2 separate regions of the Homo sapiens genome follow, and region 1 is linked to region 2. The links are contacts of gene promoters, found by promoter capture Hi-C in human tissues and cell types (Jung and others, 2019). All regions are on one chromosome and are shown on one strand. Each heading gives the region's core, a stretch centred on a gene start or on the middle of the fragment in contact. The rest is flanking DNA. Distances are from core to core; before and after follow the strand shown. Region 1 holds the start of GPR150 (G protein-coupled receptor 150). Region 2 overlaps CAST (calpastatin).

Region 1 (3,977 bases), core at 50-2,549, 1.1 Mb after region 2:
CAGCCGCTTCCGCAGCTGTCGCCGGAGCCGGCAGTCGCCCGCCTGGAAGAAGAGGTAGACGAAGGGATTGAGAGCGCTGTTGGCCATCGCCACCACGCGCAGCGCCGCCGACAGGCCCTCTCCCTCCCAGTCTCCCGCGGGCCCGGACGACCACGCGGCCGCCAGCCGGGCGGCAAAGTAGGGCAGCTCGCAGCCCACGAACAGCAGCGCCAGCAGCAGGCTCATCTTCAGGCTCTGCACCTTGGCGCGGGGCAGCGCGCTGGGCGCAGGGGCTCGACCTGGGCTCGCCGACCAGGGCGCTGCAGCCGCGGGGGCCTGCGGCCGGTGCCGCCACCAGACGGAGAGTAGGTGGCCGCAAGCGACGCCCAGGACCGTAACAGGCGCGACGAAGCCCGCGACGGCCTCGTAGAACGCGTAGACCTGCAGGTGCCAGCGCGGCAGGGGCGCGAAGATCCCGTGGCAGCGACGCTCCCCCGGCCAGGCGCGGGCGGCCGGGGGCGCGCCTGGCTGCAGGGACGTTGGCGGCGGCGGCGGCGGCAGCGGCGAGGGGGAGTCCCCGCGCACCACGAAGGCCGGGGGCAGCGCCAGCAGCAGTGCCAGCAGCCAGCCCAGGGCGGCGAGGGCACGCGCGGGCAGCGGCCGGCCGTGCGGAAGACGCACCGCGCGCCGGCGCTCGAGGGCGATGAGCACCACGAGGTGGGCCGAGGCGCCCCGCCCGGATGCCTGCAGCAGCTGCAGGAAGCGGCACGCCAGGTCCCCCGTGGCCGCGCGGGGCTCGCCCAGCAGTTCCCAGGCCAGCTGTGACAGCGCCGTGCCCCCGCACGCGTACAGGTCCGCCAGGGCCAGCTGCACCAGCAGGAAGTCCATCTTGCGACGCTTGGGGCCCGCCCAGGGCCCGCCGCCGCCGCACAGGCGGCACAGCACTGTGGTGTTGCCTGCCACCGCCACCACCAGGATGACCCCCAGGAACACCAGGCGGACGCGGCGGCTGGGCGGCCCAGAGGCAGGGGCTCCTTGCCCCAAGGTCAGGTTGAGACCCCAGCCCAGCAAGATGGGCACGGAAATGTTGGGCGCCGGCGGCAGAATTGAGGGGCTAAAGAGATCCTCCATCCTTGTCCCGGAGGAAGAGGAGGCACCGAAGAGGGCGGGCAGGACGCGGGAAACCAAAGTGGAGGCGAGGCGGCGCGGGGAGCGACGCTGGGTCTATACGAGTTCCCAAAGTTAGTTGAAAAGGCACACGCACAGAGAGGGAGATGGATTCGGGCGGCTTTGCGCTTAGTTGTTTTTGTCGATTGTCCTCGTGATTTGTCACTCAAATGTGGGTTGTACACTCGAGGAACACACATGATTCCTATTCTCCACCTTCCCCGCGTCTTCCCTCCCATTCCCGGCGGGTACTCTTCCAATCTCTGCAGCGGCCCCCGACGCTACCCTCGCGGAAGCCGCGGACCCCTGGGCGCTGAGAACCTCATCCATTCTCTATTTACGTGTAAAGCACAGCAGGACAGAATGTCGCTTTGCTTGGCCATTGTATACGGCCAGTGTTATGCCAGCACCCACACAAGAGAGGACCTCTTGACTGAGATTGTACCACACGCCCCCACCACCCCAATGTGATTGCCAGTAGGAAAAAAATAGAAAAGACATTAGTTTTTATTTTAAAGGTTTGAAATGCCATGGATCTGCACGAGCATGAGAAAAACAGGAACACAAGAAACCTAACAGCGTTTTGAGCAAAGAGGAGACCTATTAGCTGAATTTTGATCAAGATGTGTCTTCTCTGTCCAAGAATGAAAGTATTTTAATTAGAGGGTACTAAAGTCAATGATGTTGCTTTTAGGAGTGGCAGTGTTGCAGATCGTTCCAAATACTAGGAGCAGTGGGTCACAGCTGCTTTCTTGGTGATGTAAAATTCATTTCATTAGTCTGAAGAGGGCATTAATAGGTTTTATGCAAATGGTAGTGCATTTATTGCTTTTCTCCTAATATTTTCATCCAGTGAAGGATGCGTCATCACACTCCTCATTCTCTTGATTCTGTTTTCCAGCAGATGGGAAGTTGCTAGGAGGGGCTACGCCTCCAATAAGCCTAGAGAAAAGGTGACTAAGAAAGTGATAAGGCGGCCAATTTTTTTAAAAAAGAAATCCAAGTCACAGGAAATGGTTTAGATTAAATGTTGCTGCTTTCATTTTAGCCTTGTCTCCTCACAAACACATTTTAGTTTCCCTGTTGGAAGCATCCATTTGTCTTTTTATGCACCCTCCACGTTAATCATGGTGAAAGTAGAATTTCCTGTACTTCCTGGCCTGGGGGCCAGGGAGGTATGAGTGTTGTCTAGGGTTCACATTCCCAATCTGAGGAAACATTTGGAACTTTAAGATTCATGGCCTAGGAAGATTTGGTGGGTTCCATGATAGTCCTGCCAGCTGCTGTAGGAATCCCATTTCCCAAGCTGTTGTCCTTTGGCCAGAAACCTTGGTTATTTTCATCATCATCTCTGTGGTGCCTCGCTCTGGTCTGACAGGTTGTAGTTATCAGTGGGTATGTGTTGAGTTGATGAATTAGTGGATATACGATGCTTTTCAGATACCTTCGAGCATAAATGCCTGCCTTGACTATAAATCCATCACCTAAGAAAAAATTCCTTTTATACTATGCCAGTATTGTCCAGAGGAGCCCAAGGAAGCTCTGTGGAGACATAGGAATAAGTGTTCCTGGTGGGACATTTAAGAAAGCTAGAGTGATAGCCTTGGAAAATCTAAAATCCTGGTTTGATTTTCATACTCTCCCTTTAGAACTTTTTATCCAAGGCCTTTTTCTATGCACACACATCATCCCAGTTTATAATGCACTTCTTCCAGGGAGCCTTCTCTGAGCAATGTTCATCATTCAGTGATTTTCCTAGCCAGTATCATTTCAGTGTTTCTCAAGATAGTCTATCATTTGTCTCAAATTTGTTGAAATGCTCTTATATATTAGCATTTCAAAATGACTATAGTGAAATTTCACAGAACTTTAGTAAGATCTGATAAAACATTGATTTTCAACAAATTCTTTTTTTTTTTTTTTTTTCCCTTTTTGAGACAGGGTCTCACTCTGTTGCCCAGGCTGGAGTGAAGTGGCATGATCATAGCTCACTGCAGCCTCGACTTCCTGGGCTCAGGTGATTCTCTCACCTCAGCCTCCCAACTAGCTGGGACTGTAGGCAGACACCACCACACCCAGCTAAGTTTTGTATTTTTTGTAGAGGCTAAGTTTCGCCATGTTGCCCAGGCTAGTTTTAAACTCCTGGGCTCAAGAATCTGCCCACCTTGGCCTCCCAAAGTGTTGGGATTACAGGCATGAGCCACTGGGCCTGGCCTAAACTAATTCTTATTAAAATTATACAATGCACATAGTTTTGAAAGTCAAATGGAACTAGAAGGCTGATAACATAAAGAGTTCCCTGTCCTATACATCTCCACTTCTTTATCCCCTCTTTCTAGAGGGAACCAATTTAGACTCTATTTGCTCTTTCTTCTGGCATTGACTTAATTCATAATAGTAAATAATATATATGTAATGCTATTCATTGATTTAACAAATTGATATATTATCTGTTAACTTCTTATTAAAGACTTATCTCTCGCACCTCTGTCACTATTTCCATTTCCCATACCATTAGAACAATACTGTAATTTTGGGTTAGACTTATATTTGGTGTTTATATTATTATGAAACAAAAATATTCACAGTTGAGTTGTATATTGTGAATATTATTTTTTGTTATTTTTAAAGTTAATAATTGCCTTTTCTTACTTTTCATTGTTATCATAGCTAATTCTTCCTGTACCCTCAAATAGTCCCCCCAAGCAATTTCCACAAGGTCAGTTTCAAAACGTAATATAGCAGCTCCAATTTTTTTTCACGGAAACCTCTTTACCAGAGACTTTCATTTTTCTCTTATTTGGGCTAATTTCTCCCAAGGCCTACTGCAT
Region 2 (4,523 bases), core at 1,254-3,753:
CTGACACATTCCACATAGGAAAATAATTCTAATATCTATGTAAATAAGTTTTGCTCATAGGAAAACAAGCAGTGACCAACATTATGAAGACTTATAGAGAAAGACAAATGTACCGGGACCACACAGAGAAATACCACAAAAGAGGTGATGCAAATGCCCTGTGATGATTAATCATGTCCTGCTAGTAATCCTCCTGCCCCTCTGTTAAAACTCATGAGGGGCTGAATGATACACAGAACAGAGTTTAAAGTGGAAAGCCATTTCATAGGTTTCACTCCAAGCAAACTAGAATAGAGGAGCTTGATTCAAGAAGCTGAACACTGTCATTATGAGCCAATTTCAAGAATTCCTGGTATAAAATATTGTCTCTAGAAGTTTCTATTTTTTCATTTTCTCATAGAAGAGAGCAGAACTTAACCAAACACTAAAGGAAGCCTACCAAATGCCAAAAATCTAGGCAGAATCTCCATCCTAATCGAAGCCAATGGAACTATATTGAAAAGCACAATTGGTGAACCACTTGTGTCATGCATCTGAAACAGAGCAAGCTTATGTCCCTGAAAGACCCCCTCTTTCCTGAATGCTCATACTCCACACAGAAATGTAGCCATCTAGAAAACCTAGCAGTCAAACCTCTTTGGTAGGAGTCCTCTTCATGAGGCAACCTATCTTTATTCCCCATTAGTGCCTCTCTTTCTAACCCAAGTCAAAGATTCCAAATCCAAATCCTGGAAACCAACTAAGCAGAAATCTGGTGCGTTCAGTGGAGTGGGCAGGGTGTGGGAGGATGGGTTGTGCGCAGGGTGTGGCAGTAGCATGCTGCACCTGGGGGAGTAGTTGTCCTAAGTACAAAGTGGCCTTCTTGGGGGTGGAGGTAAAAAAAGCCGCATTAGCAATCCTTGCTAAAAAATGGAGTTATTCCCTGCATCTCATTTCATACAGTGGATGTTCTGTAATGAATGAAAGTCCACTAGGTAGTGGGGATTTTACCAGCATTGTGCATATTCACCTGCCAAACAGCTGTAGGTCTGAGGAGATTTAGTTAGCAGGGACATAGATGAAGAGCAGGGCTAAGGACAATGTGCTCATCACAGCTGACAAGCTCTAGGAGTAGGCCAAGCTCTCCTTAAAAGAGTAATCAGAAAGAAATTTTGCCTCTCAAAACCACCACAGAGAAAGGCAGAGGGCATCATTACCCCGAAGACTGAAAAAGACAGATCTCATAAAATGATACAGAATAAGAAGAAAATTCAGACAAAAGTGTACATCCTTGATAGGAAACAAGATGGTATTACCTTCATGAAATGGAGTAAAGAGCTATAGATTGAGATGGAATGATAATGGAGTGAGACAAAGAGGTAAGAGAGGATAAGAAGGGGACACAAAGAAACCAAAAACGAAAACCAAAATTTAAACCTGTATTAGAAGTTTCAAAGAGCAGAATTTAGAAATAAAATATGTGGGGGGCAAACTTCAGAAACTCTCCTAGAGTGCAAGGGTAAATGTCAGCAAAAGAAAATTGTGAGGCAGATGATTAGTGAATGTCTAATGTCAGAATTACAGTAGTCTCTCTTATCTGCAGTGGATATATTCTAAGATTCCCCAGTGGGTGCCTGAAACTGCAAATAGTACTGAGCCCTGTATTCACTATGGTTTTTCCTATACATACATACCTATAATAAAGTTTAATTTCTAAAATAGGCACAGTAAGAGATTAACAACAATAACTAATAATAAAATATAACAATTATAGCAATATACTGTAATACAAGTTATGTGGATGGGGTCTCTCTCTCTCAAAATATCTCATTGTATTGTACCGTGGGTAACTGAAATCATGAAAAGCGAAACAGCTGATAAAGAGGAACTATTGCATATGTAGGTTTAGGAAGAAACAAGGGAAACCGAAACAAGAGTAATAATTAAAGAAATAATGAAATAACAGACATTCCAAGACAAATTAATAAAGAAAAACACATATTAATATATAAGTACATCCTGGTAGTATTTTTTTTTTTTTTTTTTTTTGAGACGGAGTCTCGCTCTGTCGCCCAGGCTGGAGTGCAGTGGCGGGATCTCGGCTCACTGCAAGCTCCGCCTCCCGGGTTCACGCCATTCTCCTGCCTCAGCCTCCCAAGTAGCTGGGACTACAGGCGCCCGCCACTACGCCCGGCTAATTTTTTGTATTTTTAGTAGAGACGGGGTTTCACCGTTTTAGCCGGGATGGTCTCGATCTCCTGACCTCGTGATCCGCCCGCCTCGGCCTCCCAAAGTGCTGGGATTACAGGCGTGAGCCACCGCGCCCGGCCCATCCTGGTAGTATTTTTAAATTGTAAGAACAAAAGAAAAAAATCTTGCACCAAGGCAAGAAAAATAGGCTTCCTAAAAAGTAAGTCAAAAGTAGGCTGCCTCAGACATCTCTGAAGCACAAAAAGCCAGAAAACCACGAAGCAATAGATACAGAATTTTGAGGAACAAAACTGTGACCCAAGGATGTTGTACAATTTTGTATTGATGGACTTTCTTGTGAGTCACCAACGAGAAAACATGCTTACATTCACACACTCAGAAAATCATCATTGTGCTCCCTCCCTGAAAAAAATATCTTAGAAAATACTCTGGTCAATGAAACAATAAATGAAAATTTCAAATGAAAAAATGGGGAAACCACAGTTGAAAAGAATCTTGTAACTTCCCAGAGTCACTTTAGCCTCCCAAGTCAGACTCAGCTCCCAAGTCGCACCCAGTGCGAGCCTGTGCTGGCCTCTTGGGGCTAGATATCCCGGTGAGCCAGGCATGACTGCCTCGGTGCAGCTTTTCGGCTTAGCTTTTCTTGGCACTGAGACATGAGCTTGTGCAGCCACAATCGACTCCCCACAACTAGTATGAACTCTCTTGTCATGACATAAAAGAATGTTAAAATGTTTGCTGCAGTACTCTTCTAGAACTTGCTAATGACAGCTAAATCACTTGTGGGAACACTGTCACAAATTACTTCTTGAATAAGAAGTAAATTTCTCCTCCCTTCAAAAACAGAGCACAAAATAATGAACATTAAATGCCATACTGAATGCCAAGGTGCTTGAATAATGGTTTTCTATATACTTAAATGCCACACACACTGATGGGTCTTTTTTTAATTGGAAAAGATTTATCTATCACAAAGCACATTATTTATCATTTTCAGACTAGGCCCTATAATGGTGTTCCTTTGCTATTTCTGCTTAAAAATCAAGATATGCAGCATTTCAGTAAACAAAATAAGCAAACAAAGAAAAAAGATGCAGGAAAATACACCAAGATGTACATAGTGCCCATTTCTCTAGGTGCTAGAATCCTAGATGAGGGTGTTTATTTTCCATTTTTCTTTTCTTCTTCTTCTTTTTTTTTTTTTTTTTTTTTTTTTGAGACAGAGTCTCGTTCTGTTGCCCAGGCTGGAGTGCAGTGGTGTGATCTTGGCTCCCTGCAACCTCCGCCTCCCAGGTTCAAGCAATTCTCCTGCCTCAGCCTCCCGAATAGCTGGGACTATAGGCGCCCACACCCACGACCACGCCTGGCCAATTTTTGTATTTTTAGTAGAGTTGGGGTTTCACCATATCGGCCAGGCTGGTCTTGAACTCCTGACCTTGTGATCCGCCCACCTCAGCCTCCCAAAGTGCTGGAATTATAGGCATGAGCCACCACGCCTGGCCAAGGGTGTTTATTTTCATTAAATTCTCTGGTACTTTCTAATTTTTTTCCAATAATTATATTTTAGCTACACAATCATTAAAAAGTACTAAAATTGGCATATATAATAATTATAAATACATGACATTATCGCGTTAATTTAAGTATATACACACAAGTTTAGAGCAGTAGTTTAAGCGGTAAGACTCAGGGTAATATTGTTTTTCACAAGTATGTATTACTTTTGTGATTAAAAAAGTCTAACTTTATTAAAAGAAAAAAGTAAAAAAAAAATGTTTGAGTCATTCAACATTGAATTCATGCATTCTAAAAGGAGGAGAGGTAAACACTGAGGAAAAGCATGCCACCAATGCCATTAGAGTAAGGAAAATGTAAAAAAACATCTTTTCCTTTAAGGCAGAATTTCCGTTCGCTTTTATTTGTGTTTTCTTTACTCATAAAAATAAATCCATTGTTAAATTTGAAGCTTTTAAAATTGGCTCTCTGAGATCATGCCCGTTTTATACTTTAAATTCCATTCCCCAGGACTTTACTGAAATATGTTGCTAAAAGATTCACACTCTCTCAGTGTGGCCGGATGTGTCAGTTTCATCCTTTAAATAGATTTGATTGCAGGTTTGGAAAGACTTATTTGTTCTACTGCATTTAAAGTTGCTGATGTTAAGTGTTTTCATTTTTCTTTTTCCTCCTCTCTAGTTATTTTATCTTTGGCTTGTTAGTCCATGCAACTTTTGGTCCTGTAATTCCTCTACATCTGAGAAAGAATTGAAAAATTCATAACAATTGGTATAAACAAGCAAACATAAATAAATTCTCTCAGACACTTACCTTAC

What was found. The method cuts DNA at HindIII sites, captures the fragments that hold promoters and counts their contacts. A contact is called where the count stands out against the background at its distance.
Region 1: a contact is called between the fragment with the promoter of GPR150 here and a fragment that was not itself captured in region 2, in 1 of the 25 tissues and cell types used here (heart right ventricle).

What each region holds. Positions count from the first base shown.
Region 1 is chr5:95,617,409-95,621,385 of GRCh38, reverse strand. GPR150 (G protein-coupled receptor 150) reads right to left here and starts at 1,299. Exons shown (of 1, transcript NM_199243.3): 1 at 1-1,299. The coding sequence starts at 1,110. RefSeq lists silencers at 1-398, 107-401, 419-468, 559-958 and an enhancer at 1,128-1,743. The HindIII fragment of the contact is 8,865 bases long and covers 1-3,977 here.
Region 2 is chr5:96,679,238-96,683,760 of GRCh38, reverse strand. All of the region lies in intron 2 of CAST (calpastatin), which reads right to left. Among named protein-coding and RNA genes, the nearest start is that of CAST, 19 kb to the right of the region's middle. The HindIII fragment of the contact is 4,670 bases long and covers 169-4,523 here.